Linked DNA regions of Homo sapiens: region 1 is linked to region 2. Evidence: promoter capture Hi-C in human tissues and cell types (Jung and others, 2019). All regions are on one chromosome and are shown on one strand. The core of a region is centred on a gene start or on the middle of the fragment in contact, and the rest is flanking DNA. Distances in the headings are between cores, read along the strand shown.

Region 1 (4,431 bases), core at 1,020-3,519, 1.4 Mb after region 2:
TGATAACATTAGATTTTTATGAATTTATATAATTTTAAGAACATTTATATTAATAACATACCCATTAGATGTAACTAAAAGAGGATTTAGTATTATTTATCAAAACAAGTTGAATTGTTTAAAAGACTTAATTTAGGATTTTGATCTTGGAGAAATTTGTAAAAGATGTCAAAAGGCTTAAAACACTTGATCAAGATAGAACTATATGGCTGGGCCTGGTGGCTCACACCTGTAATTCCAGTACTTCAGGAGTCCAAAGCATGAGGATTGCTGAGCCCAGGAGTTCGAGACCAGCCTGGGCAACATAGGGAGATCCCCATCTCTTAAAAAATTAAACAAAAATTACCCAGGCATGGTGGCATGCACCTGTGGTCCCAGCTACTTGGAAGGCTTAAGTGGGAAAATTACTTGAGCCCAGGAGCTTGAGGCTGCAGTAAGCTGTGATCATGTTACTGCATTGCTGCCTGAGCAACAAGCCAGACCCTGTCTCAAAAATAAAATAAAAACAACAACAAAACCCACAAAAAACCTACACAGATAATACAGAAATTATTATTATTGTTATTATTATTATTATTTTGAAATGGAGTCTCTCTCTCTCTCTCTGTTGCCCAGGCTGGAGTGCAGTGGCATGATCTCAGCTCACTGCAACCTTTGCCTCCTGGGGCTCAAGGGATCCTCCCACCTCAGCCTCCTGAGTAGCTGGGACTACAGGCACACACCACCATGCTTGGCTAATTTTTGTATTCTTTGTAGAGACAGGGTCTCCCTATGCTGCCCAGGCTGGTCTCCAATTCCCAGACTCAAGGGATCCTCCTGCTTCAGTCTCCCAAAGTTCTGGGATTACAGACGTGAGCCACAGTGCCCAGCCTAGAAGTTATTTTTGTTGTTTTTGTTTGTTTGTTTTTTGAGACGGAGTCTCACTCTGTCATCCAGGCTGGAGTACAGTGGCACGATCTCGGCTCACCACAATCTCCGTCTCCTGGGTTCAAGTGATTTGCCTGCCTCAGCCTCCCGAGTAACTGGAATTACAGGTGCACTCCACGACACTTGGTAATTTTTTATATTTTTGGTAGAGACGGGGTTTCACCATGTTGACCAGGCTGGTCTCAAACTCCTGACCTCAAGTGATCCGCCCACCTCGGCCTCCCAAAGTGCTGCGATTACAGGTGTGAGCCACCCCACCAGCCTAGAAGTTATTTTGATAAAATGCAGAATATTTGGTTTTGAGGCCAGTTACCAAAATGGTAAAGAAAAACCTCTTGTAGTGCAATTGTATGGGAATTGCCCTACTAAATGGGAAGCCCATTTAGATAACCTGGAAGTCAAACTTAACATTAAAAAAAAAAAAAAAAAAAAAAAGAGGGTGGGCCTGGCGTAGTGGCTTACGCCTGTAATCCCAGCTGTTAGGGAGGCCGAGGCTGGCAGATCACCTGAGGTCAGGAGTTTGAGACCAGCCTGGCCAACAGGGTGAAACCCATCTCTACTAAAAATACAAAAATTAGTCGGGCGTGGTGGTGGGTGCCTGTGATCCCAGCTACTCCGGAGGCTAAGGCAGGAGAATTGCTTGATCCCAGGAGGCAGAGGTTGCAGTGAGCCGAGATGGCACCATTGCACTCCAGCCTGGGCAACAAGAGCGAGACTTTGTCAAAAAAAAAAAAAAAAAAAAAAAAGAGGGTGCTCACATTAATCAGACCCAGGATGAGTGTGTCTAGGGTTATAAATGTATATTAAATCATAAAGGAATGTAAATAAGAAAACTAGTATCTTGAGCAGTGGGATATATGGCTCTTAGTAACAGCATGGGAAGTTTTTTGGTTATGTGGAACAATTTAGATATATCAAGAAAAGCCTAGAACACAGAATCAAGTTATACTGGAGGAAAACATTGCCTATTTAGACCTTCAAGACAAATGTTTTAGTATTAGCCATCACAGTAGGGGTAGAAAAAGTTACACAAAAAGTTCACAAAAAGGTTGAAGGAGAGAGTTAACTCAGCTAAGCAAAAAGATATACCTTTTTATGGAAAAAAGGAACAGAAGACAATGATGTATGTAACCTGTCAATCATATGTAGTGAGGCATAGAAAAAGCTGAATTTTTTAGATATAAATCTGGTAAGTTTTAAACAGAAACAGATTTTTTTTTTCTTTTGAGACAGGGTCTCACTCCGTCATCCAGGTTACGTGTTGAAATCACTGCTTACTGCAGCCTTCACCTCACTGCAGCCTCGACCTCCTGGGGCTCAAGCAATCCTCCCATCTCAGCCTCCCAAGTACCTGAGACCACAGGTGTGTGCCACCACGCCTAGCTATTTTTTCTTTTGCTTTTCTTTTTTTTTGGGAAACAACAACAACAACAACAAAAGCCACCATGTTACCCAGGCTAGTCTTGAACTCCTGAGCTCAAGCAATCCTCCTGCCTCAGCCTCTCAAAGTGCTTAGGTTATAGACGTGAACCACCGCGCCTGGCATCATTTTGTTTCTTATTGTCAGTTTAGAAAAATTTGTTGGATCTGAATATCAGCAGTTTTGTGTTTTGTAGTTGTTCTGTTTGTTCTTTTTGTTCCAAATTTAATTAATATTTTAACCTATTGAGAGAAAGAAATATGCACATTGTGAAATTCTAAAACTCTCTGCCTAAGAGATGTATGGGAGCCAAGGGAACCAGTAGAAAGGGATGCGTTCATATCACAGGGATCGAAGGAGGAGGAGCAGTTGGAGGCAAAAGGGAGAAAACCTCCAAAGTCTTTTTCAATTTAGAAATAGTTTTCTTTATTTTTCTTTTTTGTTTGCCTCAGTTTCATCATCTGTAAGAAATAATTTTAAATATATTTACCTTTTGAATGGGGCAAATTTTTTTTTAGAATGTATCTTAAAAGCTTTTAGGTGTTATTGGAATTAAGTCTCCCATTCTATTTGGTTCTATAACCAGCTTTTCTAATTATGCGTGCAAATAAATTATTTTAGGCACATTCAAAAGATCCCCATTTTGGCCATTGCTGTTTTATAACCAATCTGGGTTAGGTAAGTAGAAGGACCCATAAACATTATTCATAAAACCTAGCTGGCGCATCTTCAGTTTTAGAGGACCCCTTTTCCATCCTGGTTGTTTTGAATGAAACAAGCTATGTAGTGGAGCAAGAGCACGCTCATGCAATTGAAAAAGGAGGAAGCTAAGGAAAAGTTGTCTCACACCAAAACCCCAGTGAGACAATTTACAGAGGTCCCATTTTATCCTAGCCTAGAATTCAACAGAAACTCTTGCCTTGAATTCACAGCAGTAACTCTGATTCTGAGAGAGTCATTGTACCTCCTAGCCAAGGAGGAAACTAGCTTCAATAAACCAGGACCTCAACTAATTAGCCAGGCATGGTGGTATGCACCTGTGGTCCCCAGCTACACAGGAGACTAAGGAAGAAGGATCTCTGGAGCCTAGGAGGCAGAGGTTGCAGTGAGCTGAGATCACACCATTGCACTCCAGCCTGGACAGCATAGTGAAACCCTGTCTGAAAACAAAACAAAACAAACAGAACTTTGACGAAGACACGAAGTTCATTGAATTTTTTTTTTTTTTTTTTTGGAAACAGGATCTTGCCCTGTTGCTCAGACTGGAATACAGTGGCTCCATCACAGCTCATGGCAGCCTTGACCTTCCGGCCTCAAGAGATCCTCCCAAGTAGCTGGGACTAGAGGCCCATGCCACTAAACTCAGCTTTTTTTTTTTTTTTAGACGGAGTCTCGCTCTGTCCCCAGGCTGGAGTGCAGTGGTGCGGTCTTGGCTCACTGCAACCTCCGCCTCCTGGGTTCAAGCAATTCTCCTGCTTCAGCCTCCCGAGTAGCTGGGATTACAGGCACGCACCACCATGCCCCGCTAATTTTTGTATTTTTAGTAGAGATGGGGTTTCGCCATGTTGGCCAGGCTGGTCTTGAACTCCTGACCTCATGATCCGCCCGCCTCAGCCTCCCAAAGTGTTGGGATTACAGACGTGAGCCACTGTGCCTGGCCCCACTCAGCTAATTTTTGTACGTTTTGTAGAGACGGAGTTTCACTATGTTGCCCAGGCTGGTCTTGAACTGCTGGGGTCAAGTGAGCTGACTGCCTCAGCCTCCCAAAGTGCTGGAATTACAAGCATGAGCCACTGTGCCCAGCCTGATTTTGGTAGAAACTCACCTGTAGCCCAGCAGGGCATCCAAGTTCGGGAACACAGTGGATTTGTTGCCCGTACATGCACAAAGGCTGGAAGCTGCTTTTGGTCTAGGGAGGTCACTCTGAAATCCTGCCACCTATGTCATTTTGCCAACCAAAATTAAGGTTGCTGAGGCAGAAATAATTTGATAAAGGTTATTGGAAGCCAAATGTGAGGATAAACCTAGGAAGATAAATAAACAAAGTTGGACGTGTTCTAAACTGTTATAAATTGGAATGGGTT
Region 2 (4,123 bases), core at 1,493-3,992:
GGAACCCTTGTATCACTATCACCCTGCCCCACTGCCTTTCCCTCACCATTGGTTGCCATACGTTGCCAATTCGGAGACATTTGTTAAGCACCTTCTACGGCCCGGGACTGGGGCATTGCGCAGATCATTCTACTTTGTGAACGGCTGGAGAGAAGATGCTGGGCAGCGCAGAACCCTGACAGGCCCAACCCTGGGTGCTCATGGAGGTGCAACACCCAGGCAGGGGAACAAGTGCCAAGTCTGTTGTCAAGTTTGAGCTCCTGGAGGATGGGGCTTCATTTCTAAGCCCAGCCTGGCCCTTAGAGGCTACAGGTGTGCTGGACACGAGAGCTTGAGTTGCTGGGAGTGGTCTGGTTCTAAGGGACCTTGCGTACCAAGCCAGGGACTCTGGTCTTTACCCTGGAGCCATGCTGGGGAGGTGTGTTGGAGGTTACTGTGAAGAGAAGTGACTTGGTCAGAGTTGAGATTCAGCATGGGGACTCTCAGGCCATATTTCTGTATCAGTCTTGGTGAGCTGTGCTGTGGCAGAACAGAGGTCATGGCCACACGAACTGGAGCCAGCTGTAGGGGACACAAAGAGGACTACATTCCCAGCAGGGCTGGGAGACGCGGAGGCACGAGTGGGTTGGAGGAGGGTAATCTTCCATAGTCCAGTGAGGAGTTTGGTGGTGTCCAGGGTACAGTGGGATGTGTGGGGCTGGGACCTGATAAAGAGGCCCTGGTTGGAAACAGATGGGGTGAGGTAGTGACTGAGGCCAGGGAAGGAAATGTTCAGGGAAAGCTTGGGAGGGAGAAGGATGTGCTCTGGGGGCTCCACCGCCCTGATGGGGTTGCAGGTAGGCACTGGCCTCGGGCTGTGCCCTAGGCTGTGTTCCTCCCAGGAGGCCAGAGCTGGGGCTTCAGAGGGCCACACTCCTGCTCGTGAGTCTCATAGAAGCTCCAGACGTGGAGTCATTCCAACCTTACTCCTACCTTCTCAACAGCCTCTCCCAGCACCCTTTGAGAGACCCTCTCACAGCAGCCTGTCCTTTCTTTTGGAGGCACCTCAATTCTGATGAGGTTTGCCTGAGCACCCACCCTCCCAGCTGGGCCTCCTGTCTCCCCTAAGACTGGCCCACGTGTGCACATATGTCTGTACCGTACTGTCCATGCCACTGGCCTGCTCTTGCCCGCCCTGGCTGCACGGGAGGAGGTGACAGTCTTAGGGGGAAGGGGCTGCCTGTGTGATAACATACCTGGTTCTCTGCAGCCCCCCACCTGGAGCACACCTTGCAGGGATGGGGGGTCCTGGGACATGGCTGAGGAGACCCTGACCTTGGAATAAGGTCATAGCACTATGCCCCAGGATAGTTTGGGGGGTCAGTAATAAGGGATAGAGCCCCAGCCTTCCTTGGGCAATAGGAAAGCAGGCAGCATGGATGGTCTTCACTGCCTCCAGCTCTGGCCACACCAGAGTCCTCGGGCTGTGGAGGAGTCCAGCCAGTGCTGTCCCCATATCTCCCTGTGGATCCCAGGGGAGGCTGTGGGGCCGGGCATATTAGAAGGGGCCCAGCAGCCTTGGTGAGTATAGATGTGCTTTCTGGGCTGCCCAGAGTTATTCAGGATTAGCAGGAAAAAAAGGGGGAGCAGGACCCAGATGGGGGCCTGCCCTTCTTAGCAGTGCCTCTCTGCCTTAGTGTCACCCATCTAATGGAGAGATATGCATATACAGAGCCCCACCTCCTTCGGACAGTGGCCCTGGCGTGGTGTGTGTTGGAGGACTGTCCACAGCCTCAGAAGCGAAGCTGGGGGAGGGTGTGAAGTCAGCCTGGGTAAGGGGACAGGAGTAAGGTAGGGGGCAGTTATGAAGCTGGAAGCTACAGGTACCATGAGGGCAGTGAGGAAAGGAGGAAGGGGCCCAAGGGGACCTCGGCCTGGTAGGGGAGATGGGTGGCAGGGACCTACAAGAAAAGTAGATGGAAGGAGAGGATGCCTGTGGGTGAGGACATGTAGGTAGGGGGACCTGGCCTGGGGCATGGAGGGCTCGATTCCTGAGAGATGAGCTGTCACTGTGGGTGGTCCCGCCCTCCACAGATGGGCGGCCCCCTCCCTGCAGGCACAGCTGGATTGCATCTGCCTGTGACATGGTAGGGGATGTGGGACACTGGGATGTATGCATAAGCATGACACAGGTTCTCTCCTCCTTCCGGCTTATCCCCTACAAAGAGGGGGTGAGTTACTTGGATCCAGGCCAAGGGGACCTTGGTTTCCCTAAGACCGGCCCAGAGTCACTCATTTGCCAGGGCTTCTTGCCTGTCAAGGAGATCCGGGTGGGGCCCAGGAGGCCCACCAGACAGATGGCTGAATCACAGGAGTGGCCGGCGGGACCCATGGCCTGAGGGCTTGTCTGGGCACCCCCACTGGATTGGGGGTGAGTCATCCCCAACTGCAGCCCCACCCCCCACGGCGCTGCTGCCTTGTGGCTCTGCAGGAACCTGTCCACTCCTCAGCCTGGTCACTGTGATTGACCTAAAGCAGCCAAGACCTGTGACCTTAGATGGAGTTAGGGGTACTCCCTCAGCATCTGCCCATGCAGAACCTTCTGGGAAATTCCCAGAAGCCACGGGGGGTCGGGGGGTTTATAGTTAAGTGCGTCATATCGTTTGTCTGGGGGAGGGGTGGGGGGGGCGGCGACCTCTCAGGGATATGGGTGAGGGCGGGTGCCTGGGTTCCCGCCTGCCGCTCCGCCCCCCGAGATCAGGGACTTTTCTCTGCTCTGCCCGAGAGACTGCAGCGGCGGCGGCGGGAGCGGGCGGACGCGCAGGCAAGACCAGGACTCGGGCTGGAGGGGCGCTGGGCTCGGACCTGCCAAGGCCACGGGGGAGCAAGGGACAGAGGCGGGGGTCCTAGCTGACGGCTTTTACTGCCTAGGATGACGCTGCGGCTTCTGGTGGCCGCGCTCTGCGCCGGGATCCTGGCAGAGGCGCCCCGAGTGCGAGCCCAGCACAGGGAGAGAGGTGGGCACCGCAAGGGAGGACCCGGCCCGGGGCACTGCACCGTGCCACCCTCCGCTCCACTCGGCCTTCATCCCCAACACCCCCCGCCCACAACCCAGCCAACTCCACGACGCCCCGCGGATTCCTCCTAATTCTGGGACTCCCCGAACCCTCCGCGATCGGTGCTGGGTTCCCTAAACCGCCTCCTATCCTGTTCCTACCCAAATTCTGGCTCCCTGGATGCGTGCGGGGTCCCCTGCCTTATGCCAATCCACGCCGGCCCCTAGAGGCTGACCTCAGTCCCAAGTCCACACCCGTGCTGGCGACTCTCCCTCCCCCGCACACCCCCAACCCTCCGCGGGAGTCTGCTCTGGGACCCACCGAGCTCAACTCCCTCCAAGGCCCTCAGGCTCAGGCCGATTCGGCCCTGGTTTGCATAAGATGAGGCCTACTCTCCCCACCATCCCAAGTCCCAGTGAGGCCACCGTGCGGGTAGGCGGGTGGTTGGCCTCCCAGAAGAGGCCCTGATCTCTCCTGCCCGCCCCAGTGACCTGCACGCGCCTTTACGCCGCTGACATTGTGTTCTTACTGGATGGCTCCTCATCCATTGGCCGCAGCAATTTCCGCGAGGTCCGCAGCTTTCTCGAAGGGCTGGTGCTGCCTTTCTCTGGAGCAGCCAGTGCACAGGGTGTGCGCTTTGCCACAGTGCAGTACAGCGATGACCCACGGTGAGTAGGGGCCCTGGGGGCTGGGGACCACGAGATCCCCACCAAGACTCCTTCCCCAGAGAGGGAGGAGACCCTGGAAACCCCAGGCCAGGTCTTTGCAGAAACAAGTTTTGGGGAACCTAGAGACCCCCTAGCCAGGACCTCCTTTGGAGACAGAGGTAAGGATTCCCTAGGTAGAACCTTCGTGCCCTGAGGCACCTCCAGGCTACTGCAAGACAGGAAGGTGCAAGACAGTGAGGCTGTGTTTTCTGATCTGGAGATGGGGAGCCCAGGAGGGGGCCCCCACGCCTGTTGGATTCTCCACGTTCTAGCCCTCTAACCCTTGCAGCCGTTCACCAGAGGTGCTCCATCTGGCCAGCATCCACTTTCCTACATCTGGACCCCTCCTCCTGCAATTATTTAATTAAGCAGCATCTTGTT

Evidence for each region. Contacts are between HindIII fragments. The study calls those that stand out against the background at their distance.
Region 1: a fragment that was not itself captured here is called in contact with the fragment with the promoter of COL7A1 in region 2 in 1 of the 25 tissues and cell types used here (lymphoblastoid cells).

What each region holds. Positions count from the first base shown.
Region 1 is chr3:47,200,360-47,204,790 of GRCh38, reverse strand. All of the region lies in intron 2 of KIF9-AS1 (KIF9 antisense RNA 1), which reads right to left. Among named protein-coding and RNA genes, the nearest start is that of KIF9-AS1, 38 kb to the right of the region's middle. The HindIII fragment of the contact is 8,939 bases long and covers 1-4,431 here.
Region 2 is chr3:48,593,948-48,598,070 of GRCh38, reverse strand. COL7A1 (collagen type VII alpha 1 chain) reads left to right here and starts at 2,742. Exons shown (of 119, transcript NM_000094.4): 1 at 2,742-2,803; 2 at 2,911-2,996; 3 at 3,523-3,703. The coding sequence starts at 2,912. The HindIII fragment of the contact is 15,548 bases long and covers 1-4,123 here.